Regions from separate parts of the Homo sapiens genome. Here regions 2, 3 and 4 are each linked to region 1. The links are contacts of gene promoters, found by promoter capture Hi-C in human tissues and cell types (Jung and others, 2019). All regions are on one chromosome and are shown on one strand. Each heading gives the region's core, a stretch centred on a gene start or on the middle of the fragment in contact. The rest is flanking DNA. Distances are from core to core; before and after follow the strand shown.

Region 1 (3,061 bases), core at 416-2,915:
TGCCTTCTATGACATTGACATTTTTGAAGAATGCAGTCCTCCCCACCTTTTTAAATAGAACGTTTCTCATTTAGTGTTTATCTTATGTTTCCTTGTGATTAGATTTGAAATAATGCTGGAACATTGCCGAGACGTATTGTGCAGCACTGCATAGGTGTAGTATTATGTCCTTCTCAGGGTATCACATCTGGAGGCAAAGAATGTCTCTCTGCCCCTCATGGTTAATTTTGATCACTTGCTTAAAGTATTGCCCCATTTCTCCACTGTACAATGACTGCTTTTTATTTTATTCCCCACTCCCTTCCAACTCATGGCAATCTGGAGGGAGATACTTTCAGACCCTGCAAAAGTTCTGCTCCTCATCCAACATTTCCCCCAGCTTTAGAATCCACTGATGATTCTTACCTGATCCAATCTTTGCCACCAAGTCTGAAAATGATTCATTTAAAAGTTTTTAAGTTTTATTTTTCACATATAGGTCTTTGACCTGGAATAGATTTTGTGTATGGTGTGAGATAGGGATTGAATTCTATTTTCCCCCCAGATGGCTAATCAGCTCCATTTGTTGAAGTTTATTCTTTCCCAGTTGGTAAGAAATGTCCACGTCTTCACACATTTGCTGTGTTTGTTTCAGTACTGTATATTCTATTTCATTGGTCCATTTGTTTATCCTTGTGCCAAAACTATGAAGTCTTTATTGCCATAGCTTTATAATATATATTTATATAAATATATAATTGCTGTCACTACATAATGTGGATTTATATAAATATATAATATATAATTGCTATAGCTTTATAGTATATATTTATATAATTGCTGTTTTATATATCATATAATTATATAAATATATAATTGCTATGTTTTATATATTATATATTTATGTAGATATATAATTGCTATGTTTTATATATTATATATTTACATAAATACATAATTGCTATTGCTTTATAATAAATTTGTATATCTTATAGGGCATCTTCCATTATACTCTTCTCTAAAATTGTTAGCTATTCTTGCCATCCGGGCAATTATATTCATTTTCACAACAACCCTCAGATTAAGCAATTGCCCAAGGTCCAAAAATCAGCAAGAGGGACTTGGAACCCAGGTCTGTCGGAGGCCAAAGCTCTTTTCATTACTTCCTGAGGGTGGTTTTCTAGGCATGGAGAAGCAGAGGTCAGGGAATCAAGTGTGGCGAGAGAGAGAAGAGAAGTGAAAGAAGAAAGGCAGGTGTCAGCTTGGTGTGGGTTTGGTCTCTGGGATATAGACTTTGCCAGCCAAAGGATGGAGCTTGAACTTAGCTGGCAGAACTGGAAACAGAAGATTGTAAGGAAAGGGACTGGGATCAGTGTTTCTTCTCCAGGACGGATTACCCACAGCTGTCCACGGGCAGGCACTTGTTACTTTCTGGCTGAGCAGGGCAGTGTGGCCGACGGCTGAAAGGGGAAGCTGCGGCTGCTTTTGTGCAGGGGTGGTGGTGATGAGGGTGATGTGGGGGGCTGGAAGGCATGGAGGGGAAAGGATCTGGCTGACTACCTGGAAGCCAGGACAGATCCCACCCCAGAAAGGCGCAGTAGGGGCTCTCATCCTCCACTAGCCCGCCCCTCCCTACCTAATTAAGGACCCTAATCAGCTTGGGGAGATTAAGGGCTCTGGCCGGCTGTACCCACGCCCCCGCCCTGGCCTGGGCTGGCAAGGAAGACCTGTGGGCGGGCGTCAAAAGGGGGACCGGCCCTGTGACCCCTCACCGGGGGCCGTGGGCCCGAGCCCCCGGACTTCCCTGTAAATGTCAGAGGCCCCTCCGCTGGGATAGGGTCGGTCTGAGGGCGCAGGCGAGTCCCTGCTGACCCCTGACGCCTCCGACGGGGGGAGGGGCAGGCCGGGTGGGAGCGGGAAGCCGGGGCGGCAGAAGGGGGCTTCGGGGCGGTGTCCTTGGCCCCAGTTAGTCTTCCCAGCCTCCGGAGGGGGCGGTAGCAGCAGAATCATCCCATGGGTTACTCGGGCTTGGAGAAACTCGGGGTTACGGGGAGAACCCTAGGGGAGGCCGGGGTCTCAGTCGCTCAGCCTGCTCCGTCTGTGTTCGCAGAAGCCGGCAATGACCGCCTGCGCCCGCCGAGCGGGTGGGCTTCCGGACCCCGGGCTCTGCGGTCCCGCGTGGTGGGCTCCGTCCCTGCCCCGCCTCCCCCGGGCCCTGCCCCGGCTCCCGCTCCTGCTGCTCCTGCTTCTGCTGCAGCCCCCCGCCCTCTCCGCCGTGTTCACGGTGGGGGTCCTGGGCCCCTGGGCTTGCGACCCCATCTTCTCTCGGGCTCGCCCGGACCTGGCCGCCCGCCTGGCCGCCGCCCGCCTGAACCGCGACCCCGGCCTGGCAGGCGGTCCCCGCTTCGAGGTAGCGCTGCTGCCCGAGCCTTGCCGGACGCCGGGCTCGCTGGGGGCCGTGTCCTCCGCGCTGGCCCGCGTGTCGGGCCTCGTGGGTCCGGTGAACCCTGCGGCCTGCCGGCCAGCCGAGCTGCTCGCCGAAGAAGCCGGGATCGCGCTGGTGCCCTGGGGCTGCCCCTGGACGCAGGCGGAGGGCACCACGGCCCCTGCCGTGACCCCCGCCGCGGATGCCCTCTACGCCCTGCTTCGCGCATTCGGCTGGGCGCGCGTGGCCCTGGTCACCGCCCCCCAGGACCTGTGGGTGGAGGCGGGACGCTCACTGTCCACGGCACTCAGGGCCCGGGGCCTGCCTGTCGCCTCCGTGACTTCCATGGAGCCCTTGGACCTGTCTGGAGCCCGGGAGGCCCTGAGGAAGGTTCGGGACGGGCCCAGGGTCACAGGTAGGCTCCCTTGCAGGGTGCGAGGAGGTCGGCTGGTCCTGCCGGCAGCCGGACGGCGCCGCGAGCCAAGCCTCTGTCCGCAGCAGTGATCATGGTGATGCACTCGGTGCTGCTGGGTGGCGAGGAGCAGCGCTACCTCCTGGAGGCCGCAGAGGAGCTGGGCCTGACCGATGGCTCCCTGGTCTTCCTGCCCTTCGACACGATCCACTACGCCTTGTCCCCAGGCCCGGAGGCCTTGGCCG
Region 2 (2,748 bases), core at 111-2,610, 300 kb before region 1:
ATATATTCATGAGTAGAGTACTATACACCAGTGAAAATGCATGAATTAGAGCAAAATGTGTTTCCATGGTTAAAGCTTGCTATCACAGAGGGATGTATATGATATAATACCATTACTGTTAAGTCTAGGCCGGGCATGGTGGCTCATGCTTGTAATCCCAGTGCATTGAAAGGCTGAGGTGGCTGGATTGCTTGAGGCCAGGAGTTTTAGACCAGCGTGAGCAACACAGACCCCTGTTTCTACAAAAAAATAATTTTAAAGATTAGCCGGGCAGGCTGGGCGTGGTGTCTCATGCCTGTAATCCCAGCACTTGGGAGACTGAGGTGGGTGGATCACGAGGTCAGGAGTTCAAGACCAGCCTGGCCAAGATGGTGAAACCCCGTCTCTACTAAAAATACAAAAAAATTAGCCGGGCGTGATAGCAGGCGCCTGTAATCGTAGCTACTCAGGAGGCTGAGGCAGAGAATTGCTTGAGTCTGGGAGGCAGAGGTTGCAGTGAGCCAAGATTGTGCCACTGCATTCCAGCCTGGGCGACAGAGCGAGACTCCGTCAAAAATAAATAAATAAATAAATAAATAAATAAATAAGCCAGGTATGGTGGCTTATGCTTATATTCCCAGTTACTAGGGAGGCTGAGGCCAGGGGATTGTTTGCTTGAGCCCAGGAGTTTGAGGTTTCAGTGAGATGATTGCGCCACTGTGCTCCAGCCTAGGCAACAGAGTAAGACCCTGTCTCTAAGAAAAGAAAAAATTAAGTCTAAAGACCTGCAAGACAACGTTAGATACTGTTTTTTTTCCCATATGAATATACTCCTAGGCTGGGCGCAGTGGCTCACACCTGTAATCCCAGCACTTTGGGAGGCTGAGGCAGAAAGATCACTTGAGGCCAAGAGTTCGAGACCAGCCTGGCCAACGTGGCGAAACCCTGTCTATACTAAAAATACAAAAAATTAGCTGAGCATGGAGGTGAACTCCTGCAATCCCAGCTACTCGGGAGGCTGAGACACAAGAATTGCTTGAACCTGGGAGGTGGAGGTTGCAGTGAACTGAGATCGTGCCACTGCACTCAGCCTGGGTGACAGAGTGAGACTCTGCCTTTAAAATTAAAAAAAAAAAATTTATATATATATATATATTTATATATATATATATATTTATATATATATATATATATATATATTTATATATATATATATATATTTATATATATATATATATTCCTAAGGAAATGTATGACAGTGATAAATTCAAGATAGTGTTTACCTCTGAGGGAGAGTTTCTGTTAGGAAAGGGGTTTAAACATATCTTTTTGTTCAGCTGGATGGAGGGGTCACAGGGCTGTTTTTTTAATAAGATACTTTGTATGTTTGAACTGTTTAATTTTTTTTCTTTATTTTTGTAAGGAGGTTTTTTTGTTTCCATTTTTGTATTTTTGAGACAGTGTTTCTGTTGCCCAGGCTGGAGTGCAGTGGCAATGATCTCAGCTCACTGTGGTCTCTATCTCCTGGGCTCAAGCAATTCTCATGCCTCAGCCTCCCTAGTAGCTGGGACTACAGGCATGCACTACCATGCCCAGCTAATTTTTTTTTCTTGTAGAGACAGTGTTTCACCATATTGCCCAGGCTGGTCTTGAACTCCTGGGCTCAAGTGATCTGCCTGCCTCAGCCTCCCTAAGTGCTGGGATTACAGGTGTGAGCCACTGTGCTCAGCCGATAATTTTTTTCTTTTCTTTTTCTTTTTTTTTTGGGGGGCACTGTCTCTCTGTCACCTAGGGTGGAGTGCAGTGGTGCGATCTCAGCTCACTGCAACCTTTGTCTCCTGGGTTCAAGGGATTCTCCTGCCTCAGCCTCCTGAGTATCTGGGATTACAGGTGTCCACCACCACGCCTGGCAAATTTTTGTACTAATATTTTTTTAAAGGATCAAATGGCACCTAGCATGTACTCAGTAAGTATTTGAATAATTGGTTGGTTCTTTGTCTCTGGGTTGAGGTATTATTATTTGTTTCTTCCTCTCTAAGTGTTTATAAAGAAAAAGTATAAGGCCCGGCACGGTGGCTCACACCTGTAATCCCAGCACTTTTGGAGGCTGAGGCGGGTGGATCACCTGAGGTCAGAAGTTTGAGACCAGCCTGGCCAACATCATGGTGAAACCCTGTCTCTATTAAAAAAAAAAACAAAAACAAAATTAGCCAGGCATGGTGGTGCATGCTCTGTCTCAAAATAATAAAAAAAAAAAAGTATGAATCTATATGGCTTTTGGTGGCTAAATTTGACATTAAAGTCTGAGCTCACCCTTGAACATTGAGACAGAGTCTGTGCTCCATATATACACCCCATCTGCCACAACACTGCTAGAGGCACGCGCCTCAGACTCCTTTTCCCTCCGAGTGACTCAGCCATTCCCCCGTCTCTGTATAGGTCCCTGTCCTTCGAATGGTGGAAGGTGATACCATCTATGATTACTGCTGGTATTCTCTGATGTCCTCAGCCCAGCCAGACACCTCCTAGTAAGTAATGTTTGCCTCCCTGCTCGCCGCCCCACCACCCAGTTTCAAGCAGGGCCTCTTGGGAGAGTCAAGGGCTGCCAGGGGTCTTTGGAGGAGGAAGGCTTGGCATGCTTATCAGAGGGGCTGGTCAGTTGGCTTCCTCCCCTTCCTTTTTTTTTTTTTAGATTGAGTCTCCCTCTGTCACCCAGGCTGGAGGGCGGTGATGCAGTCTCAGCTCACTGCAACCTCCGCCTCCCAGGTT
Region 3 (2,761 bases), core at 1-2,500, 320 kb after region 1:
CCCCTACCTTCCGCCTCTCCCTTCTCAGCAACCACCAGGGCCGCCCCACCCACCGACTACTCCAAGCTTCTTCCCTGTGAGTTGTGTTTCCCTCAGAAAACAACCTTGGGACACTTATCTGACCTCTCAGACCTCCCCCACTTCCCCAGTCTCTCTCTTCTGTGGCTCCTGCCTCAGCCCCAGAGGATCTTTTGGGCCAACTGTGACACTTCCCAATATCCCCACCAGATCAGACATGCAGCGCTGGCTGGGAGCCTTCCCAACCCCAGGCCCCCTTCCCTGCTCCCCAGACACCATCTATGAGGACTGTGGTGAGTATCCCCCTAGAGGGGATGAGGGAAGAAAAAGCGAGTCTTAGAGGAATATGGGGGAGAAGCTAAACAGAATCACTTTAATGTCACCCACCCCCAACCAGACTGTTCCCAGGAACTGTGTTCAGAGTCGTCTGCACCTGCCAAGACTGAAGGACGGAGTCTGGAGTCCAGGGCTGCCCCCAAACACCTGCACAAGACCCCTGAAGGTGAGAAAGTCTTTCATTTATTTATTTTGTATTTATTATTATTATTTTTTGAGACAGAGTCTCATTCTGTCAGCCAGGCTAGAGTGCAGTGGTGTGAGCTCGGCTCACTGCAACCTCTGCCTCCTGGGTTCAAGGGATTCTCCTGCCTCAACCTCCCAAGTAGCTGAGATTACAGGTGCCCACCACCACGTCTGGCTAATTTTTGTATTTTTAGTAGAGATGGGGTTTCACCATGTTGGCCAGGCTGGTCTCGAACTAACCTCAGGTGATCCGTCCCCTTTCACCTCCCAAAGTGCTGGGATTACAGGCATGAGCCTCTGGTGCCAGGCCTTATTTCTATTCTTTTTTTTTTTTAATGGAGGTGGGGGGTCTCACTATGTTGCTCAGGCTGGTCTTGAACTCCCGAGCTCAAGTGATCCTCCTGCCTCAGGCTCCCAAAGTGCTGGGATTACAGGCGTGAGCCACTGCGCCTGGCCGTGTTTCATTTATTCATTCAATAAATATTTATTAAGCACCTACAAAGTGCCACTCGCTGTTCTAGGGACTGTGAATCAAATATATCACACTTCCTTCCTTGCTGGAGCTACGTTCTAGCAGAGGAGGCAGACGATAAAGAATGAGCAAAATAGATAAGTAAATTATAAAGTACATGTGAAGGTTATGAGTGTTATGGAAAAAAAAAAAAGTGAGCAGAGCAAAGAAGGTCAGGAGTTCCAGGGTTGGGCAGACTGAAATTTTCAATAGGGAGGCCGAGGTGGACCTCACTGAGAAGGCAACATGAAGCTTGATGGAGCTAATTTAGGCCCATGGTGTCTGGGGGAAGAGTGTCCCAGCTGGAGGCAGCAGGCAGTGCAAAGGCCCTGCGGCTGGTGTGTGACTGAGGAACTGTAAGGAGGCCAGTGTGACTAGCAGGAGAGAGAAAGGGGGAGAAGCAAATGAGGTCATAGAAGTGGCAGGGATGGGATCACGCAGGACCTGACAGGTCTCTGCAAGGACTCCACCTCTTACTCCAAGAGACATGAGCAGCCACTGCAGGGCTTGACGGAAGAGCAGCCCAGACTCTCTCCGAGCTGCTGTCACCTCCACTTCTGATGCCCTTTCTACCGATGCTCCAGGCTTGTCCATGAATTCCCACACCTACAATGACCCTGAAGGCCTGAGACCCCACGAGGCCCCCTTTGCCTCCTCACCTGCTCCCTGCCCCCACCTCATTGGAGCCTCTGTCTCTCTTCCCCCAGGTTGGCTGAAGGGGCTTCCTGGGGCCTTCCCTGCCCAGCTGGTGTGTGAAGTCACAGGGGAACACGAAAGGAGGAGGCACCTTCGCCAGAACCAGAGGCTTCTCGAGGCTGTTGGATCTTCTTCAGGCACCCCCAATGCCCCCCCACCCTAATGCAGGCTGAGGAGGGGGCACATGTTGGGAGACACCTACCAGTGTGGCACGGAGAGAACAAAGCCCATTCATCCATTGGATTCACTGTCAGTGGAGATACTACCTCTCGTGGCAACCATAGAGATCGAGCTTCAGGACAGAGCAGCCAATGAAAACGGCCGCCTGAACCCACAGCAATAAGAATGAATGAGGATGCCTTGAATGTGTGGCCAATGGAGACAGAGGCTTAGTGCAGAGCAGCCAATGGGTACTGAGCTGGCTGAGCCTATGGCCAATGAGTATTCCTGCTATGCTCAGGGCCAAGGAAGACAAATCTAGGTCATGGCAGTTGAAAAAGGGCCTCATTGGAGATAAAGTCGTAGGATAAAATTGGGAACAGGAATGAGCAGGAAGCCAATCAGCCAAAGAAAATGGTGATCTGGACCCAAGAGACCAGTAGTCACCCTGCTTGTTTCTGCAGCAATGACTGGTCCTGTCTTTTGAGTCTGGGAAATACTAGTTTCCATTCCTGGATGCTTCCTGTGCCCTCTCAAGCCAGTTCTTCTCTTCCAGAAGAATTCAGAGTATGTGTCTCAGAAAATCTGTGTGTGTACATGTGCATGTGTAGATATGTGTGTATATGTATCAGGAAAGGCATTCTGCTGACTGTGGTGTGTGTGTGGTGATTGTGCTCCTGACCCACAAATGACTGAGTGCTCCATTTCTTCCTTTACCCCCCATTTTTCCTATTATTCGCTCCAAGAAAGATGCTAAGTCTGAGCTCCAGAAGAGACTGTGCTGGGTGTGGCTTGGCACCCAGGGGATGAGAGCCCTGAGCTTTGGGTCTCTTGGAGGCTAGGGTTCTGTGGCAG
Region 4 (2,989 bases), core at 223-2,722, 320 kb before region 1:
TGGGATTACAGGCGAGTACCACCACACCCAGCTAATTTTTGTATTTTTAGTAGAGACAGGGCTTTGCATGTTGGCCAGGCTGGTCTCGAACTCCTTACTTCAGGTGATCGGCCCGCCTCAGCCTCCTAAAGTGCCAAGATTACAGGTGTGAGCTACCGTGCCCTGCTCCCACCTCCTGTTAACAAGGATATAGTCATTCTCAGCCTGCAATCTCTGTATGGGGAAGGACACCCCCTTGGCCCCCACCCTTCCCCACCTGATACACGGCTCCATTTCTTTGATTCCTTTCACTGCAAAGCTTCTGGAAGAACAACTGTCTCACCGCTCACCTGCCCATTCTCTTCGGACACTCCTCAGCCCTGCATTACAAACCCCTCACGAATGGCCCGTCTCGGCTTCTTTAATCTCATCTCTTAACAACCACTCCCTCTTCCCCAAAAGCTCTAGCTAGACTGGCTGCCCTTCTCTGCTAATCAACTGGTGGTTCCTTGGCTAGCCAGGAACATGGGGGTAGGCTCCTTCCCGTGCAGACTTTAAGTCATCCTATTTTAATTCACATCACCTCATTTGCATTCTCATAGCACTTACATTGTCTGATACTTTTCCTTGTTTATTTTATCTGTTTCCTCTAATAGCATATACACTTCCTAAGGGCAGGGCAGTGATCTATCTTGTTGTCTTGCTGACCAAAGTATTAGATCACAATGCCTTGCACCTGCTTGGGCTCAATAAATGTGAATAACACACAAGCCTGTTATATGAGAGGTTAAGAGAGCGAGAAAGAGCAAGGGGCAGCCCCTGTGTGGACCAGCATCTTGCACGAAGTTATGCAACTATCATCGCACCTTCTCCCAGACAAGCTTTCAAAGGCTTTGCCATGTTTTCTTTTGTTTTGTTTTTTTGTTTGTTTTTTGAGATGGAGTTTGGCTCTTTTCGCCCAGGCTGGAGTGCAGTGGTGCAGTCTAGGCTCACTGCAACCTCTGCCTTCTGGTTTCAAGCAATTCTCCTGCCTCAGCCTCCCGAGTAGCTGGGATTACAGGCCCCTGCCACCATGCCTGGCTGATTTTTTGTATTTTTAGTAGAGACAGGGTTTCACCATGTTGGCCAGGCTGGTGTGGAACTCCTGACCTTGTGATCCACCTGCCTCGGCCTCTCAAAGCGCTGGGATTACAGGTGTGAGCCACTGTGCCTGGCCCGCCATGTTCTTTCTTTCTTTCTTTTTTCTTTTGAGGCAGGGTCTTGCTTTGTTGCCCAAGCTAGGGTACAGTGGTGCAATCATGGCTCACTACAGCCTCGGACTCCTGGGCTCAGTGATTCTCCTGCCTCAGCCTCCCAAGTAGCTGGGACCACAGAGGCCTGCCTGGCTAATTTTTTAGTCTTTTTCTTTTTCTTTTTTTTTTTGGAGACGGAGTCTCGCCCTGTCACCCAGGCTAGAGTGCAGTGGTGTGATCTCGACTCACTGTAACCTCCACCTCCCAGATTCAAGCGATCCTCTTGCCTCAACTTCCTGAGTAGCTGGGATTACAGGCGCCCACCAATGCGCCTGATTAATTTTTTGTATTTTTAGTAGAGATGGGGTTTTGCCATGTTGGCCAGGCTGGTTTCGAACTCCTGACCTCAGGTGATCCTCCCGCCTCCGACTCCCAAAGTGCTGGGATTACAGGTGTGAGCCACTGCACCCGGCCAATTTTTGAGTTTTTTTGTAGAGGCAGGGTTTCACTATGTTGCCCAGGCAGGATGCTCTCTTTCTTTTTCTTTTTTTTTTTTTCAGGGATGCTCTCTTTCTTTATGCCAAATTTGTCATCAGATTTGCTAAGAAACATGCCTACTGTAAGTGTTTGTTACACTTTTCTGTTTTTTTTTTTTTTTGAGACAGAGTTTTGCTCTCGTCCAGGCTGGAGTGCAATGGTGCGATCTCGGCTCACCGCAACCTCTGCCTCCCAGGTTCAAGCGATTCTCCTGCCTCAGCCTCCCGAGTAGCTGGGATTACAGGCATGCGCCACTGCGCCCGGCTAATTTTGTATTTTTAGTAGAGACGGGGTTTCTCCATATTGGTCAGGCTGGTCTTGAACTCCCAACTTCAGGTGATCCGCCCGCCTTGGCCTCCCAAAGTGCTGGGATTACAGGCATGAACCACTGTGCCCAGCCCACTTTTCTGTTGTTTGCACTGACAAAACATCCCCTACCAAACAGCTCCTTTAATGGCAGGCTCTTTTCTTTTTTTATTTTATTTTATTTTATTTTATTTTATTTTATTTTATTTTGAGACGGAGTCTCAGCTCTTATTGCCCAGGCTGGAGTACAGTGGCACTATCTCCGCTTACTGCAACCTCCTCCCGGATTCAAATGATTCTCCTGCCTCAGCCTGCTGAGTAGCTAGGACTACAAGCATGTGCCACCACACCTGGCTAATTTTGTACTTCTAGTAGAGACGGGGTTTCACCATGTTGGTCAGGCTGGTCTTGAACTCCCGACCTCAGGTGATCCACCCCCCTTGGCCTCCTAAAGTGCTGGGATTACAGGCGTGAGCCACCAAGCCTGGCCTACCTAGTACTCTGTGTATTATGGGAAATGTAGAGTTGAGGAAAGTGCTGGGCACACAGTAAGAGCTCAACAAAGGTTAGCTCTTTCTGCAATTGTTCTATTTCACTTGTTCTATATTATTATTCTAGAGAGAACTGTGTGATTGTTAGTGCGGATCTGTGGTACTGCTCCCACCCCCACTCCATTAATGCAAGTACACCTCCTTCAGGGATCTATTCAGTCAACAGGCCAGGAGGTGCTGTCCTGAAATGGGGGGCCCAAAGTCTCAATCCCACTTGGAGGGACACAGGTCTACAGACAGGTCTCCCTGTCTTTATCTCTCAAATCTTCAGTAGCAACTAAAATCTCCGTGTTTTTCAGAGCAGGACCTTCCCAGGGGTACCAGCATCAGTGGGCCAGGATACAAATGTGCCAGGCTGAACTAGGCCTTCCAAATGGCCAGGGA

The links. The method cuts DNA at HindIII sites, captures the fragments that hold promoters and counts their contacts. A contact is called where the count stands out against the background at its distance.
Region 2: a contact is called between a fragment that was not itself captured here and the fragment with the promoter of GUCY2D in region 1, in 1 of the 25 tissues and cell types used here (lymphoblastoid cells).
Region 3: a contact is called between a fragment that was not itself captured here and the fragment with the promoter of GUCY2D in region 1, in 4 of the 25 tissues and cell types used here (IMR-90 fibroblasts, lymphoblastoid cells, mesenchymal stem cells and 1 more).
Region 4: a contact is called between a fragment that was not itself captured here and the fragment with the promoter of GUCY2D in region 1, in 1 of the 25 tissues and cell types used here (lymphoblastoid cells).

What each region holds. Positions count from the first base shown.
Region 1 is chr17:8,000,950-8,004,010 of GRCh38, forward strand. GUCY2D (guanylate cyclase 2D, retinal) reads left to right here and starts at 1,666. Exons shown (of 20, transcript NM_000180.4): 1 at 1,666-1,785; 2 at 2,090-2,819; 3 at 2,903-3,061. The coding sequence starts at 2,099. The HindIII fragment of the contact is 18,418 bases long and covers 1-3,061 here.
Region 2 is chr17:7,698,323-7,701,070 of GRCh38, forward strand. It overlaps WRAP53 (WD repeat containing antisense to TP53), which reads left to right. Exons shown (of 11, transcript NM_001143992.2): 5 at 2,419-2,507. Among named protein-coding and RNA genes, the nearest start is that of EFNB3, 5.5 kb to the right of the region's middle. The HindIII fragment of the contact is 6,031 bases long and covers 1-2,748 here.
Region 3 is chr17:8,319,084-8,321,844 of GRCh38, forward strand. It overlaps ARHGEF15 (Rho guanine nucleotide exchange factor 15), which reads left to right. Exons shown (of 16, transcript NM_173728.4): 13 at 1-76; 14 at 229-311; 15 at 416-520; 16 at 1,759-2,761. The coding sequence ends at 1,910. Among named protein-coding and RNA genes, the nearest start is that of ARHGEF15, 10 kb to the left of the region's middle. The HindIII fragment of the contact is 6,503 bases long and covers 1-2,761 here.
Region 4 is chr17:7,677,069-7,680,057 of GRCh38, forward strand. The region is part of intron 1 of TP53 (tumor protein p53); the gene reads right to left. Among named protein-coding and RNA genes, the nearest start is that of TP53, 8.9 kb to the right of the region's middle. RefSeq lists enhancers at 1-512, 513-1,124, 1,125-1,735. The HindIII fragment of the contact is 5,026 bases long and covers 1-2,989 here.